Regions from separate parts of the Homo sapiens genome. Here region 2 is linked to region 1. The links are contacts of gene promoters, found by promoter capture Hi-C in human tissues and cell types (Jung and others, 2019). All regions are on one chromosome and are shown on one strand. Each heading gives the region's core, a stretch centred on a gene start or on the middle of the fragment in contact. The rest is flanking DNA. Distances are from core to core; before and after follow the strand shown.

Region 1 (5,374 bases), core at 1,343-3,842:
CAGGCACTCATTAGCTAGGTCATTTTTGTGACTTGGACAATGTTCATGCTTTTGTATGTGTTAGACATGATTAGAGTGCTGTTGTTTTTGTCTTGATCCATCATTGTTAAAGAACGGCCCTGTCTCACATTGATGCCCTGTGAAATGGCTTATGTCCAATGGGACAACAGTAAGGCCTTGCTGTGAATGTCAGGTCAAATTCTGGCAACACCAAGGTCCAGCTGGGCCTTTCAGATGTTAGGGGTTACTTTTCTCTTTCTCAGAACAGAAGAGGTTAAGAGAGACGTGGGTAGGTGGGATTTCAGTTTTCTGGGGACTTAGGCAGAGAGTTGCTTAGTGTGTGCAAGAGGTGAGCGGTAGGTGGGTGGAGTGGGTTAATAAGAATCGCTCTGGACTGCATCCTCATGGTCCCTAGCAGAGAGTTGCTTAGTGTGTGCAAGAGGTGAGTGGTAGGTGGGTGGAGTGGGTTAATAAGAATCGCTCTGGACTGCGTCCTCATGGTCCCTAGCAGAGAGGTGCTGTAGTGTGTGCAAGAGGTGAGTGGTAGGTGGGTGGAGTGGGTTAATAGAATTGTTCTGGACACTGTGTCCCCATAGTTTTCAAGAAATATAAGTAAAAAACATAACCATTTTTTTTTTTTTTGAGACAGAATCTCACTCTGTTGCCCAGGCTGGAATGAAGTAGCGTGATCTCGGCAGACTGCAGCCTATGCCTCCTCGGTTCAAGCGATTCTTGTGCCTAGGCCTTCCAAGTAGCTGGGACTACAGGTGCGTGCCACCACGTCCAGCTATTTTTTTTTGTATTTTTGTAGAGACAGGGCTTCGCCATGTTGCCGAGGCTGGTCTCGAACTCCTGAGCTCAAGCAATCTGCCCACCTTGGCCTCCCAAAGTGCTGGGATTACAGGCATGAGCCACCGCCCCAGCCAACATGAGCAATTAAAAATTTTTTGTTGTTGTTTGCTGGGCTGTCTTTCTTCTATTTTGATGCTGCTGTGAGACTCTGTGGATCAGGGTCTTAAAAATATTAAAAGTCTTTCAGGCCGGGTGCGGTAGCTCATGCCTGTAATCCAGCACTTTGGGAGGCCAAGGTGGGTGGATCACCTGAGGTCACGAGTTTGAGACCAGCCTGGCCAACATGGCGAACCCCGTCTTTACTAAAAATACAAAAATTAGCTGGGCGTGGTGCCCGGTGCCTGTAATCCCAGCTACTTGGGAGGCTGAGGCAGGGAAAATTGCTTGAACCTGGGAGGCGCAGGTTTCAGTGAGCAGAGATCCGGCCACTGCACTCCAGCCTGGGCGACAGAGGGAGACTCTGTCTCAAAAAAGCAAAACAAACAACAAAAGTCTTTCAAAGCCGAAAGGTTCTTAGGCACTGTCTTAAAGCCTAGCGCTCCAGCTGAAGCTGGTGCCTGAGTCCAGATGGTGTTGAAGAAGGAGCAGGGCCCAGCGGGCACCACTCTCAGAAGTCGGGCTCAGGTGTCTCCTGCCTCCGAACCCAAGAAGACCCAAGAAGACAGAGTTCCTCAGGCTCCCAGTGTCCCTAGGAAGTGGCAACCTTGACTCTTGGCCAGAGTTCAGAGTCCTGGTTATTAACACCAATAAACCTTTATTTGCCAGGGATACTACCATGGGAGGACACAGCCCCTGAGCCCAGCCCTGTTGATCCTGTGGGAGCGGGAGGGCAGCGGAGGACAAAGGCAGAGACCTGAGAGCCGGAGAGGCTCATCAAAGGGTCCCCAGCCCCTCTCAGGAACGGAGCATTTCTTGGCAGAGTGGTATTCATAGGACAGAGTTTGGGAAGTCGGGGCAGGGGAGCCTGAGGACACAGCAAGGAGAGCTCAGTGGCAGGTGCAGGCAGAGCGTTCTTTGGAAAATGGAGATCCTGGAAGGTGAGGGCCTCGAGCGCCAGTGTCCAGCCTTAGTGGGTATGCATATGTCCAGCTCCCTAAGGACACACTCAGGACAGCTAAGGTGCACACAAGTCCAGGGGCTTCCCCGTGCTCCGCCCCCCTCTCCCCCACCCCGGTAGCAGGCTGGAGGGCCCAGACCATGCTGGGTAGTGGGAGAAATGGAAAGAAATGGGACAGGGAACAGGAGACAAGAGCCCATGGTGGGAGTCAAAGAGCTGGAAGAGTTTTGGAAATGGGGGTCTGGGGGTAGAGTTGATCAAGGGCCGAGTTACTCAGCGGGACAGGTGGGAGGCACGAGGCCCTGGCAGCTCTGTTTTCTTGGCCGGGCTTGGGGGGGAAAGCGGGTAGCCGTCAGGCGCCTAAGGGCCCGCCCTGGACCTCCCCACCGAGGGAGGTGTCAGGCCCCGAGGGACCCGGCCCCCGAGCATCACGGACGCGCTGGAGGCCGGTGGGCGGTCGCCGTAGTCGCCCTCCCACCACCTCGCTCAGGTTTCTCCGGCCTGGGGCAAGAGGCCTGTGGCCCGCGCGGGAACGCACTGTCCACCCTCAGACCTGGGACTGGGCCGGCGCGCGGACGCTACCAAGAGGCTGCGGCTCCCGCCCCCGCGGCCGGACGTGGCGCCTCCCCTGAGGCCGCGGCCGGAGCCTGGAGGTGGGGTCGGAGTCAGAGCCCGGGGCTCTGATGTCACCGCGCGGCTGCGACGGCCCAGGAGCGCGTCTCGGCGGGAGCCTCAGGTACGCGGCGGGGGCGGGGGAGCGGGAAGCGGGCGGCTGGGTCCGCTTCCCCCGGGAGGCCGGCGGGGCTGCGGGCGGACGGGGGTGAAGAGCGGGCGGCGAGGCGGTGGTCGCGGGGCAGCCCGGGCATCGTTCGGCCGGGACGTGTCTGGCTCGGCGCCGCGTCAGGTTGCGCCAGTGGAGTCGGACCCCAGCGCGCCTCTCCCAGCTGCAGAGCTGCAGGGCGGAGAGGCGGCCCACTCTAAGCTGGCGGCGCGGCTCAGGGGCGCGGCTGGGCGCGCCGCGTGTGGCGCCGGCGGGCAGCGCGGTCTCACTCCGCCACCCTCCGCTCCTGCCCTTTGTCGCCAAGCATCTGGAGAAGCCGGGTCCTTCCCTCCCGGGCTCGCGCTGTCCCCTGCGCGCGATCCTTCCCCGACGGTGAACCCAACGGGAAAGGCCCAGAACTGCGCGGGGCTGCGGCCATCTGCTGTCGAGCCGCTCCGCGTGTCTCTGCCGCCCCCTGCGGCCGCCGGGGCCTGCGCCTCTCTCCCTCCCGTGCCTCGGCTCCCAGAGATTGAACCCCAGGTAACCGGGTCTGTCCACGCCCGCGGCCGCCTCTCCCCGGGTGTCGCCAGCTTCCTGCATTTCCTGTGCATGGCACGGAGCTCGGGTCTCCAGAGACTCTGCATCTGGGGTGCAGCGACCGATGAGCCCGTAAACCAGTCGCACACTCGGAGCGTGGATGCTGCGTGGGGTGCGCTGTCAGCGCGGACAGGCTGGGAGAACGGGGGACGCTGGGGACAGGGAGAGCCGGTGAACTTCCCAGAACGTCCGCCTAGCCAGACCCAGCTGCGGGTACTGGGTTTTGAGACGTGGTCCAGTACCCAGGAACTCAGTCTGACAGGGAGACAGCGCCTACACAGTGAGCCCAGTACTGAGGGAAGACCCGCTGGGAGGGGCGGCCTGGATAGCCCCTCCACAGAGAGGTCAGATGTGAGGTGGCCTTGAGGGAGGTATGATGTAAATCCTGATCATTCGTTGTATTTGAGGCTGTCCGTTCTCCTGTGCCTCCTCGGTCGCCTTACTTGGATCTGTTCCCATTGCCTTGGTGTGATTTTATCCACCGGAAACTGTCTTCAGCTATTTCCCCAGTAACCTCTAACTAAAAACCTGGGTCTTGCCTGGTCTACCCTCCCCTGCTGAACTCCAGAGCCACATCCCAACTGCTGCCTGACTTGTCACAGACACCATGAAGCCCAGACTGAAGGAGCACTGGCCCCCTTGACAATTCCTCAGCCCCAGCTCCTCCTTTCAGACTGGTGCCTCCACCTGCCAGACCCCTAGCTTTGAAGGCCAATCTCATCTTCGTCTCCTTCCTCTCTGGCTCCTTCATTCAGGTGACAAGTATACATCAAATGCCCACCCCAACTCCCCCTCCCAGGACTCCAATCTGGTGTCTTTCTAGCGGGGAGTCTAGGTTGCTCCCTCTGCTCTGGAGAGGCTTGGCAAAATGCCTGCAGAGCTCCTTGAGCTCCACCTCTGAACTCCCTTTCAGCAGCCGGCACAGGCATAACAGCCCAGCCCACAGGTACCACTGCCACTGAGGCAGGGACCCCTAAGGTAGGGCTACCCCCAGCCACAGGGGCTGGCTGGACTGCAAGAGGCTCCCTGCAGCCAGACAAGTATGAAAATGCCTTGTTGTTTTGTGCTGAGGCCCCCCAAAACACACCAAAGCAGCTGGGCCCTCTTGGCATGGTAGGTTCTGCAAAGCACCCACTGTGAGGAGCCTGCGTGAACATCAACCTGATAGGGCCACCAGTGCAAAAGCATCTTCAACAAGTTACAGTCAATAAGGAAACACATGTGTAGACACATTTTTATTGCCCATTCAAGCTGTTTTTATTTGCTGAATTCAGAATCCTTTAACATAGTAACTCACAAATAAGATAGATTTTCATAGATTTTCAAGACCTCTTTTGAGGAAACATCTTGTGTTTGGTGATCCCCATCTGTAGCTGCAGCAAGCCAAAATGGGCAGGATGGGTGACATGAGCTAGTGCTCCCAAGCTGGACTCAGAAAGAGTAGGAAGAGAAAGGGCTAATGTCTGAGCAGTCGGGTGGGCTTCCTAGATGAGGGGACTGTCCTCCCAGGAGCTGCTACTCAGAGTAGTTTCTTGTCCTCCTAAAGTTTAGAGTGGAAATACTTTGCAAAAGAGGTCCCCAACCCTAAGTGTGAGGGCTAAGCTCCTGGGCTTAGTAGGCATATACAAATGCCCCCAGGTGGGTGACATCAAGATGTTCTGGTCCTAGGTCTGCTGAGAGCCTCTCCTGGGAATGTTGTAGGTACTGCCTTTCCCTTTTAGGAAACACCATATCCTCCTACCACTAACCCCCATCCTTGCCCTAACCAGCAATCTGTAACATCCTGGGCCTCAGGGACGTGGGTGGAGGGTGACTCTGAGCTCCAGATAGTGTCTAGGAGGCTCAAATAAGCCTGCTTTTTGGTCCTCACCCTAGCCGTGGGCCACCCTACTCTGCACTCCCTACCAAGCAGCTCAGAGAATGGAGGCCAGCGCCCAAAAGTCTCCATAGTTCATAGGGAGCCCCAAACCTCAACACTGCCCTTTCCCAAGCCTCAAAATTTCTCTTACCCTGACCCAGGCACACCCACTCAACTCTTACCCTTGATCCCCCTCCCAGGACCAGAAGGGATTGATTTCTGGTGAGTCCTGCCCCAAGCTGTGCTTGCC
Region 2 (5,283 bases), core at 321-2,820, 60 kb after region 1:
TCTCCTGCCAGTGATACCCAGACCACTCGTGGCTTTCCCTGTTACAAGGCAGTGGTGGCTGCCACTGGAGTCCCTGAGCTAAGTAAGAAAATATGAATGCCTGGAGTTCTAGTACATTCTGCAGCCCAGAGCACCTTCCCCATCTCCTCTGTGGTGGGATAGACCACTCCCTCTCAGGCAGCACAATAAAGGCCAAGAATGTGTCTGTCCTAGGCCTGGGGGTTGGGGTGGCGAGTACTGGCCCAGCTACCAGTAACTGTGCTCTTAGCTTCCTGGAAATCTGATTTTGATGGGAAAAGCTTGAAACACACTATCCCAAATTAATAAGCTCCAGCCTGGCTGGCTGTGTGCAGAAAGGAAAGACAGTGCCTCTTAGTGAGACAGAGAAACAGAGAGAATGGAGTATTGGGGTCAGGGGATGGTTTTGCTCCCAAAATTCCTTCTCTTCCCAGGATGGGTGGAGTAGGACTGGCCTTGTGAGGATGATTGGCTTCCTGTTACCTTGACTGCCGTCATGTTGGGACCATGGCGGGTGATCCTTGCTTGAATCTTCTCTCAAGTTTTCTGTTGCCACTGTAGGAGAAAGATGCTTTGGCTCCCAGGTGTCCTCTTGATTTGGGACAGGTATATCCTGCCTCTATTCTTCCTTCCTGGCCCCGGGTAGCAGCATCCCACCCCCACCCTCCCACGTATGTCTCCTTGGTTATTTCCCGTAACCTCTGACCTGGGCTTAGAGGCTTGCTGTGGAATCCTGGGACCAGAGCCGAAGCCTTTCCTGGGAAAATTCCTAGGATTCCTCTCAGGCTCAAGGACAGTTGTGCTTATGACCGCGACCACGGGTTCTGGCTAGAGGCCTCTGCTCTGGCTATTTAAGGCCCAGGCTCCTGGGAGGAGCTGGAGCCGGGGCTAGCATAGTTTGTGCCAGGAACATGGGTGGAGAAAGCTTCCAGTGGTCCATTGACTCCTGAGTCCATTGCTCAGTTACTTAATAGGGCCACCCCCAGGGCTGGAGCTCCCCTGGGGAGTGGGCTTCCTGTCTGCCTGACTGGGTGTACAGGTGAGTGGGTGCTAGGCATGGGAGCCCAGAGGAAGAAAAGCATCCAAAGTCCAAGGCACTGGAGAACTCTGGAAGGCCTGAGGTCTGGGGGCTGCTCTTTGTCCATTACTCGGTAGCCAATCCACCTATGGTGGGGTATCCTTTCTACTCCCACTGCAACAACCAGCCTAGTTTGGGGGTTTGGATCACAGGGGTCTTTATTTACCCACAGCTTCCCCGGCTCTGTTGGTTTAGAGATTCAGTAGATTTCCAGTTCCTTCTGGATAAAAACCTGTTTTTGTGTGTTGGCAACCATGAGATGCAGTTTCTTCCCAGATCCCACCTTGTTTCATGGTAAAAGGGACAGCTCCTCTTGGCTGGTGATGAGGGCTGCTCTAGGAGGCTCAGACAGAGCATTTCCTATCAGGAAAAGGGCGTCCTAGTTATCCACTGGGCTGCGTAACAAAATGCTGTTCTCTACTTTGTCTTGGACGGCCGGGCATGGAGGCACGCAGCCGGCCTGAGAAGTTATTGTTTTGGTTGTTGTCTTTGATGTGCCAAAGAAATGATGACACAGAAGCCTGGGGCCTGGCTCAGGAGCCAAAAGCTTGTTAGTGATTAGAGAGGGGATAATGGCCCCATGGAGTTTCTCATTGCATATGTAGAGCTCAGAGCTGCCAACTCCCTCTATCCTGGGACTTTGAAGACATATACAACGCTCACCCCTGTGTGAGCACCTCAGGGAGCTGGGTGTGTGGAATGAGCCAGAGGCTTTGGGTCCACCTCTCTCTGGGGTCCAAGTTAAGTTGTCCTGCCTGAAGGCTCCTCCCCACAGAGCAGTCTGCCATGGGGCTTCCTGACTTGAGAATGGAGCCTGGCTGCAGGGTCCGTCCAGCTCACCCTCCCACCAGAGCCAGCTTACAGACCAGCAGGCCTTTGGCCCACACCAGCCCCCTGACATGTTGTATTGGGCCCTCATGGTATTCTCAGTTTGTATTGGTTGTCAATCTTTAAAAATTACAGAATTTCACATAAAAATATAGATTTCTGGGCCAGGCATGGTGGCTCACACCTGTAATCCCAGCACTTTGGGAGGCCAACGCAGGTGGATCACCTGAGGTCAGGAGTTCAAGACCGACCTGGCCAACATAGTGAAACCCCGTCTCTACTAAAAATACAAAAATCAGCCAGGCGTGGTGGTTGCGTGCCTGTAATCCCAGCTACTGGGGAGTCTGAGGCATGAGAATTGCTTGTACCTAGGAGGCGGAGGTTACAGTGAGCTGAGATCACACCACTCCAGCCTGGGTGACAGAGCCAGACTGTGTCTCAAAAAATACATACATACATATATATACATATATACATATATATATATATATATATACACACACATACACATATATACATATATATATATATACATATATACATATATATATACATATATACATATATATATATATATACACACACACACACACACACACATATATATATATGTGTGTGTATATATATATATATATATATATATATATATATATATATATGTATATATAGAGAGAGATTTTTGGGTTCTCTTTAAAAACGGGAAGATTTGGCAACACTAGATCTGTGTTCCCACAGTTGGCTGGCGTTGTGGAACTGTGGCCACCATGGATTGAGCATAAGCACAGGCTCTCCAGTTCTCTGCCATTCCCACCTCTCCCCGGGAACCCCCACGCTTGGCCAAGTTAGTGGCTGTCTTTCATCCAGCAGGCGGGGAGTGATGTGACTAGAAGTGTGGGTTTCACAGTCATGTTGTCTCCATTCAGATCCTGGCTTTGCTCTCCTGAGCAGTGTGGTCTTGGGCAAATTACACACTCTCTTGATGCCTCTATTGTCTCATCTAGACAATGGGGAGGCTGCTACGGCCTATGTCATAGGGCTGATGTGTGGACTAAATTAGATTAAATTAGGGTTGCGCAAAGCAAGCATGCAATACATGTTAGTTATGTCTGTTGTTGTTGCCATTGTTATTAAGGTGCTGCTCCCCTTCACCTATATATGTTACCTGCCTGGCTTCTAAAGGCATTTGAGTTTAGGCTTAGCCCTCTGAGGTCAAGGATCTGATGTCCTCATCTTTTCACTGGCAGCCATCTCAGTTCCTGGCACACAGCAGACATGTCCAGTGCGTGTGTGTTGAGTGACTGAATGAATGAGTTGGAAGCCTGCTAAGAACAGGGGAGGCAATGTAGCAGAGTGGTTTGGGACAAGAGCTTGGTCTGTTCTCAGGTCCCTGCTCTGCCCTGGTTAGTTCCCTAGCTTCTGTGTGCTTCAGTTTCCTCCCCTGTAAAATGGGGATAATCATGGAGTCTGTCATCCACAGTGAGGAAGGACCAAGTGAGAGCCTGGGTGTAAATCACTTGGCTTAGTTCACACATGGTGGTCCTCAGTGAGGTGTTGGTATCATCCCAGACGTCCCTTCCTTCCTTTGGTTGTGAATACTGAGATGTTTTACCTTCCACACTGTCCCTCCTTTCCTGGCTCTCCTCGCTTTCTCCCTGTTCCTCTGCATCCAAAGAGTTTTACTTTGGATCCTATGGCACCGAAGATGTTTCAGTTGCAAGTAATAGATAATACCACTCAACTAGCCTCAGCAATAAAGAGGATATGGCCAGGGGGAAGGGGAAAAGCCCAGAGATAGGGCAGACTCTGGCTCCCTCTTTTCTCTGTGATTTTCTTGGCTCTGCCATCCTGTGAGTAGACTGCAGCCTTAGGCTAGCTCCCCTAATGGTCTCAAGATGGTCATAAAGGCTCAACCTGCGTCACTTGCCTGTACTTGCACCGATCATGGCATCACGCTGATGGGCTCCCACCCTGGGAGTTGGAGCTGTGGTCTCACCCACCAAATTGCAGGGCTGGTAGCCACTGGGTCACCTGACTTTATTTCTGAGTCATGGTAGCTGAGATGTGCAGGAGGTCCTTCAGGGGCTGCTGGTTCCTCCTAGGTTGTAACCCCACTCAGGTTGGTAGAGATGCCTGGAGCAGGCACCCTGGAGTGAGCAATGCAACTTAGATCACATGTCGATGCCAAATCTATGATCAGGGAGTTGGCATTAGTGAGAGTTACCCCTCGGTAAAGCCTGGAGGTCAGATCAGTCTCCTGGGACCAGGTAACAACACTGCCTCCATCAGGGCCAGTGGCCATTCTGTGTGTGTACGTGTGTGTGTGCATGCATGCTCCATAGACTCATACCCCTGACTGGTCCCCGGGGCTCCTAAACAGGTATTGCCCCAGATGTGTGGCCCCTGCGATAACAGAGTGTAGCCTGGGTAACAACTTAGGGATGATGACCTCCCTGTACCCCACACTTCCACAGAGAGAGCCAAGCTGTGTGAGAGGAGGCCACTCTGCAGTTGCTGTGTGTGGATAGGTGGTTTATGTGAGACCCACCCCAAGAACCCCCAGTGCTACACTTAGCCTCTGGGGCCTAGAACTGTAAGAAAGTGGGGGAAAACAGGAATGGAATGGCCTCTGCTTCTCAGTAAGTGCTCTGCGGCTGCGTGTGTGTGTGTGTGTGTGTGTGTGTGTGTGTGTGTGTGTGTGGTTTCCAGACACAGCTGACTTGGTGGGGTTTGGCGGCAGACTACAGGATGTTGGATTGCATCCTGATTGTGTCACCCCTTGGAAGAAGAGGATGAATAAACACATAGCCTTCTCTGCAAGCACAGCACGCCTTAAATTTTGGAGATTTTCAGTCTTGCCTGAAAAGAAAAAAGCTCTAGACCGACTGTGTCCTCCATTTGATCCTCAAGCCGACACAAGGAGGTGGAACAGAGACTAAATAATGAAGCCCTGTGTAAGGTGGGCAGGTGCTCTGATGCCGTAGCAGTTGGAGGCTGTGTTCAGTAACTTATAAATGGTAGCATTGTCCAGCATGTTGGGCATAGTAATGGGAGGGAAGGAAGAACAGAAAACCTGACCTCCCCAACCTGCAGCCGACATCTAGAAGCTTATAGAATAGGTGGAGAATCAAGATGCATTAAAAAAGGATAACCAGTAGTACTAGGAAACAGGATAACTGCCAAGTGAGGGGTCTGGAACGTAAGTGCTTGGGGGCCAGGTGAGAGTGGGTGCCAAGGGAAAAGTAGAGTAGCTGTAGAGCCGAGGGGAGGGGCAGAGTTTGAAAAGAGAGCTCAGAGTTACCAGCTGGGCTGGAACCAGGCCAGTGAGGAAGGCCTGGAACACCATGCTAAGGGCTTTGGAC

Evidence for each region. Contacts are between HindIII fragments. The study calls those that stand out against the background at their distance.
Region 2: a contact is called between a fragment that was not itself captured here and the fragment with the promoter of SHROOM1 in region 1, in 2 of the 25 tissues and cell types used here (dorsolateral prefrontal cortex and hippocampus).

The regions. Positions count from the first base shown.
Region 1 is chr5:132,827,865-132,833,238 of GRCh38, reverse strand. SHROOM1 (shroom family member 1) reads left to right here and starts at 2,592. Exons shown (of 10, transcript NM_001172700.2): 1 at 2,592-2,645. RefSeq lists silencers at 2,284-2,703, 2,914-3,223. The HindIII fragment of the contact is 17,651 bases long and covers 1-5,374 here.
Region 2 is chr5:132,767,283-132,772,565 of GRCh38, reverse strand. The region is part of intron 1 of SEPTIN8 (septin 8); the gene reads left to right. Among named protein-coding and RNA genes, the nearest start is that of SEPTIN8, 7.3 kb to the left of the region's middle. The HindIII fragment of the contact is 3,532 bases long and covers 1-3,336 here.